Linked DNA regions of Homo sapiens: regions 2 and 3 are each linked to region 1. Evidence: promoter capture Hi-C in 16 types of primary human blood cells and fetal thymus (Javierre and others, 2016). All regions are on one chromosome and are shown on one strand. Each heading gives the region's core, a stretch centred on a gene start or on the middle of the fragment in contact. The rest is flanking DNA. Distances are from core to core; before and after follow the strand shown. Region 1 holds the start of ZDHHC22 (zDHHC palmitoyltransferase 22). Region 2 overlaps LRRC74A (leucine rich repeat containing 74A). Region 3 overlaps LRRC74A (leucine rich repeat containing 74A).

Region 1 (3,444 bases), core at 394-2,893:
CCGACTCACAAGGTATTTGGGGAATGGAGATCTTCAGTCAGTATACCCAAACCCAAGCACCCCAGCCAGCCTCCCTCCCTGCCAAGCCCATGTGAGAGGCAGACAGAGCTTGTGAAAAGGGGCCCAGACGGCCACGATTATGAGACAAAGCTGCTCTGAAGGGAAAAGGGCCATGTGTGCCTCCCCATGTCTGTCCTGTGGCCACTGGAACTCACAAGGCTACCAGCTGCTCACGGCCACCATGTGGCATATACTGTTCTTTCACTTACATGTCAGATCCTTTTAGAATGTGAAAAGGTTTCCTGGCCTCTTTTTTATTTTGATGTATGCTGATAAATTACAGAGGAAACAGTGTGTGGTTATTCAAGAATAGAGGCTGAGCTGATCAGCATATGGCCCTCATTTCAAGGGATTGCTCTTGTTTTAATCAGCCAGTTGAGAAAGCAATAAATGTTTATTTATTAAGTATGCCATCACCGAGAGGAGAGGAACAGGGCAGGTAGGTGAGCTGCGACACCCAGGAAATTGAGGATGGTGATGGCACCAATATTCCTGCAGTGTTTGATGTTTTTAAGGCTCTGCTCCCCCCACCCCCCACTGTTTGATACACATTGGTGTCACTACCCTCTTGGCGCATCACAGTACCCACCTTAGAATAGCGGAGCCCTGGAAGGGGAAGGAAATAGAAATAAGAAGGTGGGGGTGAGGCTCAAAGAAGAAGCTCCAAGTTCAAGCTCTGTGTCTGGATAAACTCCCATTGTCTTTCCTTCTCTCAAATCAGAGCTGCCCGTGGGTCCCAGGGTGATGCTGGGCTGTGTAGAGGCTGAGTGCAGGAGCATTAATGCTAGAACCAGGTTCAAGTCCAGGCTCTGTCACTTAATGGCTGTATGACCTTAGACATGAGACTTAGCTTCTCTGAGCTTCAACCTCCTCATCTCCAGAATGGGGCTCAGCCAGCTTCACAGATCAGGCTGAGAGGATTAAGGAAGCATCTTATGCTAAAGGCTTAGCACAATGCCTGCTACCTAGTAGGGGCCCGATAAGTAGTGTCTAATTATGATCTAATCAAGCAGTGCTTGCCCTGGGCAGGCCCTGTTTAAGGGTTTTACATAGATTGTCATTTAACCCTCATATCTCTATTTCACAGATGAGGAAACTGGAATCTAAGATCACACTGGAATTTACAGACGAAGAAACTGGAATCTGAGATCTCACAGTAGTGAATGGTGAATATTCAAACCCAGGTAGACAGGCTCCAGAGTCCCAACTCCCAACCCTCTGTACACAGCCCTTCCGAGGAGATGACGCTGATCTTCATGGGTGTTGCCCTGGCAAGCTGACCTCTCAAGCCCCCAGGGTTCCTTCAGTCCGAGTGGAGAGCAGGGAAGGTCGTGGGACCTAGCCGAGAGGGAAGGGCAGGATGATGGCTGGAGAATCCACATCAGGGCTGAATCCCAATCTCCCAGCTGGAACGGGCGCTGAAACCAGGCAGGGCGCCCCAGCCCGCTCAAGGGGAATCGAGAGGGGAGGAGGGGGCAAGTCCACGATGCTGAGACTGGCGGCCAGAGCACCGCCCCCAGGAGCGGAGGGAGGGGTGGCGGGGCTGGGGGGTGCCCAGCTGCCATCCCCGCCGCTTCCTGGCCCTTACTCGCTGGCGCCCAAGTGGGAAGCCAGCAGCTGCCCGCTCCCTCCTCCCCACATCCCCGCTACTTGCCCAGTTCCCGAAGCGAAGCGCAGGCTGCGAGCCAGCCGGGCCGAGTCCACAACTTTGCAGCCTCGGGCAGGGCGAGAGCCGGCGTCCGGGGCTCCTCTTGTCGGCGACCAGAGCTCGGTGAGTTGATTTCCTCACCCCTCTGCGACGGCGGCAGTGCGGCGGCGGCGGCGCGGGGGGCGGCTTCCCGTGCGTCCGGGAGGCAGTGGCCGAGAAGCCCGCGGCTGCCGGCGCTGCCGGTCTTTCCAAGGCTCCGGCTGTGCCGCCCTCTGCCGCGGGCGAGGCGGGCGCCAGGGCTGAACGGACAGCTCCCTACACCCCGGGGCCCCACGGGCGGTCTCTGCTGTCCCTTCTCCCGCGCAGGGCCAGGGCTGAGGCTGCCTGCCGAGCGCCCCTCACTCCCCTAGCCCCTGTCCTTCGCCGCCTTCCCAGCGCTGCGGCGCATCTGGCTGCTCCCGCGCCCCCCTGGCGACCGGCGCCGGGAAGGCACTTGCTTCGCCGGAGCCCCAGGCCGAGGGCTCTCTGGGGTGGGCAGCACCGCCGCAGCCCCCGGCGGCGCAGGACTGGGGGCGTGCCCAGCCCCCGGCGACCACCCTCAGGCGTGCACTGCGCTGCGCCCCAGCGGTAGGGAGAGGCCCACGCTCTCCGCGGAGGCTGCGGGTTCCCGGGGGGCGCTGGGACCTGCAAAGGGGATTCCAAGGTGACCAGTCGACCCGTGCGGACGGGACAGCCTGGACGGAGGCCCCGTGGCATCCACCCATCCTAGGTGCAACCGCCTTCCCAGAACTTTTCTCGCGCCTCCGGCTGGCCGATTCCTTAGCCCCTGGAAAAGTTCTCTCGGGCGCACGGAATCCTATTTCTCGGTGGCTTCCGAAGCTGGCCAGGAACCCCGGCTGTGAGGCGTGGGGTGGGATGGGGACGTGGTGAGGGCTGAGCACGGCGGCGGGGTCGATCCCAGGAAAGGCTGGCCAAGCATCCACTCGTGCGCCCAGGGCGGGCTTGTCGGCATGGAAAGGATTTCGGCGCCATGAGGGTTGTTTGGGTTTCTCTCAGCAGGAGGGCGGGAGGCGGGCGCGAAGGGGGGATTTTAATTTCGCCTCAAATGAAAACGCTCTTCGCAAAGAAATAGCCCGGGCAGCCAGCGTTGGAGAGATGTGCTGGCCAGGACCCGCTGACACAGGTATTCTGGTTGCGCCCCCACCTCACCCGGTGCCCGAGAGCGAGTGTGAGTGTATCGATTGTTTCAATTGATTTTTTTAAAGCTAGATAGCAGAGGCTGCGTGTCTGTACACGCAGATATATACATACACAAATACAGATACTCAAGCGCACACAGATTACACGTACAGAGTCACAGACAAGGACACACACACACACATCGTGGTCCCTCACGCACACATACCTCCAAAGAGCCTTGGGTAACCTGGTGAGGTCCCTGAGTGCTGCCCAAGATGTGTGTGTGGGTGGGGACGCAGGGACGGAGAAAGGGGAGTGTGAAGCAGGATTTCCAGCAGGTCAAGTGCCGCTGATTCTCCTGCCCCCGACCCCAAATCCTTCCCTTTCTCCTCCTAGGGAGGTCTGAACCAGAAATCCCAAACCTGGGCTTGTTTCCACATCCACAGAGGGGAGGAGTCCTATCCCCCGGTGCCCCCCACCCTCACAACTCCTAAAGACTGCAAACGAGTCCCTCCCTCCTGTGCCAGACTCTGCCGCGCCAAGGCGCCGAGCTCGCT
Region 2 (3,444 bases), core at 665-3,164, 310 kb after region 1:
CTGGTCTGAAGGACCCCAAGAGGAGCTGACTCACCAAAAGCATGCAGCTGCTACCTCCTGATGATTTAATCCCCCTTGTCCCGACCAATCAATGATCCTAATTTTTCAGCCCCTTGTCCTCCAAGATCCCCTTAAAAACTGTTGGCCAGGCCAGGTCCAGTGGCTTATGCCTGTAATCCCAGCAGTTTAGGATCCTGAGGTGGGTGGATCACCTGAGCCCAGGAGTTTGAGACCAGCCTGGGCAACATAGCAAGACTCCTTCTCTACTAAAAATGCAAAAATTAGTTGGGTGCAATAGTGAATACCTGTGGTCCTAAATAATCAAGAGGCTGAGGCAGGAGGATCACTTAAGCTCAGGAGGTCAAATCTGCAGTGAGCCATGATCATGCTACTGCATTCCAGACTGGACAACAGAGAAAACCTGTCTCAAACAAACAACTCTAGACCAGAACTCCTTAGGGAAATGGATGGAAGGGTTCCTTTCATTTCCTTGCTTGGCCACCCTGTGATCATTAAACTCTTTCTTTGCTGCAAACTCTGCTGTTTCAGTGTATTGGTCCTTACTGCACAGTGAGCATATGAACCTGGTGGTCCTGTAAGTCCTCTTTATTTTTCTCTGTTCATTCTTTCCATGGATAATTTAACTATTACCAATTTTAAATGTCACCTCTAAAGACACATCTACCTCTCTACCTTACTGAGCTTTTTTATAATGGAATTTTCTGTTTACTTTTCTAAGTGGACAAACAGTGCTATGCTGACAGGCAGTTGTTAGGTTTTCTGTTTTTCTGTGATGGGAGTCAGTTTTGTGTGTAAATCAGTTATAATTATATAAAGTCATGATGAACTCAAGGTCAAGTCCTTGTTTGGTCATACCAAGCTGAGAGATAACACTATTTCTGTGGGAAAACTTGATTTACTCTACACCGTGGTCTTTATGAAATATAATGTTGCACAAGGCAGACATTGAATGGAATGGGTCAGTAGTAAACCCATTTACAGCAAAAGTGAGCTTTGGAATGAAGACCCAGGCTGGCATTTTGTTGGTGCTCTTACATTGATAATTGGGCCTGGTCACTTTTCCTGGGCCCAGGGGCTGGTGCCTTTGCTTCCTGAACAGCAAAGAGTATATAGACTTCTATTTTTTTCTCCTCAAAGTCTCTGCAAGGAGCATAGACTTCCAAGGCCCAGGTTGCTAGTAGCCTCCTACCAGGAGCTAAATAAATCATCTGGCAGCCAAGCAGAGCCCAGGGCAGTGTGGCATAAGGGCATAAAGTGTGGGTTTAGGCTCCATAGGAGGGGCCCTCTGAATCTTGGGCCTACCACTCTGCCAACCCTCCACCTCCTCCAGGTTTCATGAGCTCCCACTAGCATGCTCACCACCAGGGCTATAGCAATAGCCTTGGTACCCCTGGGGCCCAGGCCGTGGTGGTTGAGGTTCACGTAGGACTCCTCCATGTTCCGAATGAAGTAGGAGACAGGCACTACACCCATCAGCTTGCAGGCCTCCAGGTACAGCTCCTTTTGTCCAGTGGTGAAAAATTTCTCATCATCTGCAGAGAAAGATGGGCTGAAGTAGGATTTCTCTTCCACCTTTGCCTTCTCTCCCCTCTAGCCCCAGTGACATTCACTCATGTCTAGACTGTCCTCTGCCAGAGGATCTCTCCCTGTGGGTATGTGCTAAGAAGCCTGCTCCTGTCTGGGAAGTCAGTCCATGGTGGGAGAGGGAGACTCTAACTCCAGAAAGTCCCAGATGAATGTTTCCCTTTGGGTAGGAGATGAGGCCCATGGTTTTAGGCCAGAAGCTTTCCTAGAAGTGAGCAGTGGGCTTCACCCCACCTGCCCAGGTTGGCCACATCCAGTGACTGGTCATCAAGGACATAGAAGGCCCAAGCCCTCTTGCCCACCTTTGGACAATTCTGAAAGGCCAAACGCGGATGACTTTTGATGGTTGATGGAATCTTCATTTCACTTTTAGTTTCACCGCCACTATCACAAGGTTGTGAGTCATGAAAAAAGCTTCACCAAAGACTTAGAGAGGCACCAACATTTAAAAAGCCCAACTAGGACAGAGTGGACTTCTCAAAATGGCAAACCAGTGAATATGGAAAGACCTCCACATCAGCGAGAAACAAGCATGCTTGCATGTGAATGGTCTTTCTTCTTTCAAAAGCTTGCATGTCATTTTCCTTATAAAAAGGACTGTCATCCTTGCTTTATTGACGACAAACCTAGCCTCAAATAACACACAGTTGGTCAATGCTAAAACCAGCTAACAGAAGTGGGGACTGCACCTTTCCATTCTAACCCCTGGGGGCCTTTATTTCTTAGGCTTTAGGCCAGCCTGGCCCATGGTCACTGGGCATCGGGCCTCCCTGGATTCTGGGTGCCCCACAGCTGTGTCCTCATTAGGCAAGTCCAGCCTATGGCAGGGCTTCCTGAGGCCAGCTGGCGTCTATGTCTGCATCTGTTTTTCCTTCAGATCCCAGGGCCTTTGGCCAACCCCCTCCCCCTCCAAACAATCTAAGGCTGACAATGGGAGCTTTGTTGGTGAAAGGACAAGTGCTTTACAGGGAAGCTGATTTTGCAAGCACAACTACAAATTAGACTTCTCTTTGGGACGCTTGTACAGCAGCGCTTCTCAGCCTCAGCACTGCAGGTATTTTGGGCTGGATAATTCTGTTCTGAGGGCTGTCCTATACATAGTAGGGTGTTTAGTAGGATCTCTGGCGTGGACCCACAAGATGCCAGTAGCAACCCCCCTCCCCTAGTTTGCCCAATGTCCCCTTGGTGCAAAATTGCTTCCAGGTGAGAACCACTGTTGTGGAGAAAAACAGCTCATGGCAAGTGAGCAAACCAGGCTCGTCTCCCCCTTTTCTCTAGACTCACAGCCAGCACTGCTCCCAGCTGGCCCATTTCCCATGCCCTCCCTGCCCATTCCCAGTGTCTCAGCACCCACAGCAGGAGCACCAGGAGCCAGGGCTGCTGAGCCCCGAGTTACCATTCAGGACAGAGTTTTTGGTGCCACATTCAGCCATTAGAGGTTCCTGTTGGCAAAAGCAGGGAAGGTAACCCCCAGGTTTTGTCCCTGGGACTAATTCTGCTGGGTTTGATGCTGACCCTTTCTAGCTGTGTTCCCTATTGTTATATTTTATGGGCAGCTTGCGACAGTGTTAGCACTTGCTGCAGTCAGGGGAAGAGATGGGGGAATGAGATAGAAACAGGACCCTTTGGCCAAACATCCAGTGTTGTCCTTTGCTACCTTCTCCAACCATGTGAATGAAGTTGGGTGTTAGAAGCAACGTTAACAACAGACTTGAAGTGGACAAGAAGCCAGAAAAAGAGCAACAAGCTGCCTGGGGGTCAGCGGGGAGGAGGTCTGCGTAGAAGGGTGAAGATGTATGTTGTATGTTGACCATGGTGGGGAGGTTTATAAACTGACTC
Region 3 (3,444 bases), core at 593-3,092, 290 kb after region 1:
ATCCATCCACTCACTTATCCATCTCACTGCTCATCCATCCATCCATCCATCCACTCACTTATCCATCTCACTGCTCATCCATCCATCCATCCATCCACTCACTTATCCATCTCACTGCTCATCCATCCATCCACCCATGCATCTGTCCATCCAACTGCTCATTTATCCAACCATCTCATCTACTCATCCATCCACCTGTCATCCATCCATCCATCCAGCCAGCCAGCAATCTGTTCATCTCACCGCTCATCCATCCATCCATCCATCCATCCATCCATCCATCCATCCATCCATCCAGCACATATTAATTAGAGGCTTGCCATATGCCAGCTACTGCACTAAGCACTGAGGGACACACAGGCAGACATGGCAAGGTTTCTGCCCTCGGGTAACTTAACACTGTAATTGGGGGAGACAGGCAAACAAGCCAATAGCATCAGAAGTGTTATGACAGCAGTGACAGAGGTACACCTGGGTACTGCAGGAGCAAGGAAAGGAGCATGCAGCATAGGGGAGGGGAACATGGAGCTAAGCCTTGCAGGACTAATGAGGATTAGTGAGGTCTGAGGAAGGGGGGCAAAACCAGAGGAGGAAACAAGATTCACCAAAGAAGAAAAGAGTAGGCAAGTGCAAAGGCATAGGGGTGTGAAACAGCAAGAGATGTTTGTGAGCAGAAGCAGAGAGAATGAGGCCACAGAGCTGGGATGGGCCACATCATGGAGAACCTTATAGGCTTGGAGAAGGAACAAGGACATTATCCCAGTGGAGCTAGGAGCTGCTGAAGCATGGATGGAAGTTAATGGAAGGGACTGTGGAGCCTGGTGGCTCTGCTTACCAGCTGCCTGGCCTTGCATTAATTCCCTGATCACTTTGTACTTATCACCTATGGCTGCTCTGAGGACTTACCATATCAATTCAGGCAAAGCATTAAAACAAGTGCCTGGTATGCAGTATGCTGTCAATGAACAATAGTTCTTATTATTGAAGGCTTTCAGCTAAGTGGCTTCAACATGAGGCAGCCAAAACTCTTACTGAGCCCCTAGTATATGTCAGCTGCGTCCCAGGCTCTGATGTACTCCAGTGAGAAAATGCAGACTAGGGCCTGGACCTCGTGGAGCTCAGCATCTGGAATCCTTTGCTGGACTCACTTCCTAATGGGAATTCCTTATTTTTCCAAGCTTAGGGCAAGGGGCATCAGGGCTGGATGTGGAGACCCATAGATAATTCCTGTGGCAAAGTTGATGTGGTCTCCATGATGGCCAAACTAAGAGTTTTGTCTTAAACTTTTCTCTTTTACTTCTAAAACATTTTAGAAAATTGAAATATATTCATTACATATGGTCATTGTGGAAAAATGAGAAAAGCGGTAAAAAATGGTTTAAACCATGTATACCCACAAAACAGCAAAGACCTCTATTGCCATTTTGCTGAGGCAACTGCTTAATCTTTTAAAATTCAGTTTCTCAGACTGTCCCTGGCTTCCTCAGCCACTGGGGCTGAGCCACCCACAGCCTGGGTCAGTCTCTGTCTGAGTTGTGCCTGGCCCCGCTCCACCCCAGCTGGGACTCCCAGATCTCCTGGTCACTAGATGGCCAGTCTGTTTGGTCTGTAGTCACTGTGCTCCTTCTGCCTGTCAGAATCTGGCTTCCTCCTGTCCTCTTAGCAGCTCCTCATGGTTGTCCTCTCAGATGGCAGCCCCTTCCTCACTGTCTCCTCACTGCTTTCCTTCTTCAGGACCCTCACATCTGTGGTCTCTCCAACCACCCTCACATCTTGAGGGAGTTGGAGTTGCCATGGAAAACCACGTACAGCAGGCTTCCCTCTGCCTCCTGCTACTTGTGTGGCATAAGCAATCACACAGCCTCAGTTTTCTCATCTGACAAGTGGGGCTAACAGAGCCCACATTACCAGGTGAGGCTATGAGTAACGACAGCTGGCTCTTGGCAGGTGCCCCAGAAAGGGGGATGATTAATAGAAGTCCTCACCTTTCATTTATTTTCCAACTGCTCAATAGCATCTATATTATAAATTAGCATCTACTAGTAAATTAATTTAAAATGAAATATGTATTCATTAATTCATTCATTCATCAGAAGCACACTGGGCTTCTACAGTGTGCCCAACACTATGCTAGGTATGAGGGACTAGGTATGAGGAGTTTAATGATGGGCAAAACCAGTCTTCATTCTTTTTTTTGAGACAGAGTCTTGCTCTGTCACCCAGGCTGGAGTGCAGTGGCATGGTCTCGGCTCACTGCAACCTCCGCCTCCTGGGTTCAGTGATTCTCCTGCCTCAGCCTCCCAAGTAGTTGGGATTACAGGCATGCACAATCACGCCTGGCTAATTTTGTATTTTTAGTAGAGACAAGGTTTCACCATGTTGGCCAGGCTGGTCTTAAACTGGTGACCTCAAGCGATCCACCCACCTTGGCCTCCCAAAGGGCTGGGATTACAGGCATAAGCCACCGCACCTGGCCCAAACACAGTCTTCATTCTGATGAAGCTTTCACATTTGAGGGGATGACAGGCGAGCAAAGAGCCCTCACATGCATGGAATTAGGAAGGGCAGCAAGTTCCATGGGAAGTAGGGAGCAGGGCTCTGGGAGCAGGTCCCCTAGACGGAGGATCCCAGCAGCAAGCAAGTGGAGGCGGAGTGGCCAAGCCTCTGTAGTAGGAGGAAAGGAGTGGAGAGAAGACCAGGGGGTCTTGGGTGCAGAGCAAGGGAGAGCACCGGGTGGACTGAGGCTGGAGGGGCACTTGGGGCTCAGCGAACAGGATCTGAGCAACAGGAAGCCATGCAGGGGTCTAAGCTGAAAGACAGGAGACTGAGGGGCTGGGGGAAGGGGAATGGATGTCAGATTTGTGTTCAAAAAGCACATTCTGAGGGCTAGGCACAGTGGCTCATGCCTGTAATCCCAGCACTTTCGGAGGCCGAGGTGGGAGGATGGTTTGAACCTGGGAGGCGGAGGTTGCAGTGAGCCAAGATTGTACCACTGCACTCCAGCCTGGGGGACAGAGCCAGACCCTGTCTCAAAACAAAACAAAACAAAACAAAAAGCACACTCCGGTGGCAATGTGGAGAAGATCCTGAAGGAGACCCAGATGGGAGGAAGGTGGAGAAGATCCCGAAGGAGACCCAGATGGGAGGAAGGAAGACCTGTTAGAAAGATCTGCAGTGTACCAGGGAGCACTGAGGGTGACACTGGCTTTATAGTAGAGAATGGTCACTGCATTTACAGTCAAGAGATGGTAAAAAGTACATGCATATATGAAGTACAGATATTCCCAATTATTCTCTCCAGTACTCTGCAGCCCCCAACTTATCCCAACACATACACAAACACACACACACACACACACACACACACACACCCTTTCCAGCTGAAGACTACCTTCAGAACTCTGAGGCTTTCATTGGATTCCAGTCCTTTGCTGATTTTGGAGG

Evidence for each region. The method cuts DNA at HindIII sites, captures the fragments that hold promoters and counts their contacts. A CHiCAGO score of 5 or more calls a contact.
Region 2: a contact is called between a fragment that was not itself captured here and the fragment with the promoter of ZDHHC22 in region 1, in 1 of 17 cell types (neutrophils). The highest score is 5.1, in neutrophils.
Region 3: a contact is called between a fragment that was not itself captured here and the fragment with the promoter of ZDHHC22 in region 1, in 1 of 17 cell types (neutrophils). The highest score is 6.2, in neutrophils.

What each region holds. Positions count from the first base shown.
Region 1 is chr14:77,139,990-77,143,433 of GRCh38, reverse strand. It overlaps ZDHHC22 (zDHHC palmitoyltransferase 22), which reads left to right and starts at 1,643. Exons shown (of 3, transcript NM_174976.2): 1 at 1,643-1,831. RefSeq lists enhancers at 1,529-2,030, 2,125-2,688, 2,689-3,252, 3,390-3,444. The HindIII fragment of the contact is 23,253 bases long and covers 1-3,444 here.
Region 2 is chr14:76,829,312-76,832,755 of GRCh38, reverse strand. It overlaps LRRC74A (leucine rich repeat containing 74A), which reads right to left. Exons shown (of 14, transcript NM_001385106.1): 3 at 1,381-1,553. Among named protein-coding and RNA genes, the nearest start is that of LRRC74A, 4.6 kb to the right of the region's middle. RefSeq lists a silencer at 1-70. The HindIII fragment of the contact is 214 bases long and covers 1,808-2,021 here.
Region 3 is chr14:76,853,358-76,856,801 of GRCh38, reverse strand. It overlaps LRRC74A (leucine rich repeat containing 74A), which reads right to left. Exons shown (of 14, transcript NM_001385106.1): 9 at 3,392-3,444. Among named protein-coding and RNA genes, the nearest start is that of LRRC74A, 29 kb to the right of the region's middle. The HindIII fragment of the contact is 1,324 bases long and covers 1,181-2,504 here.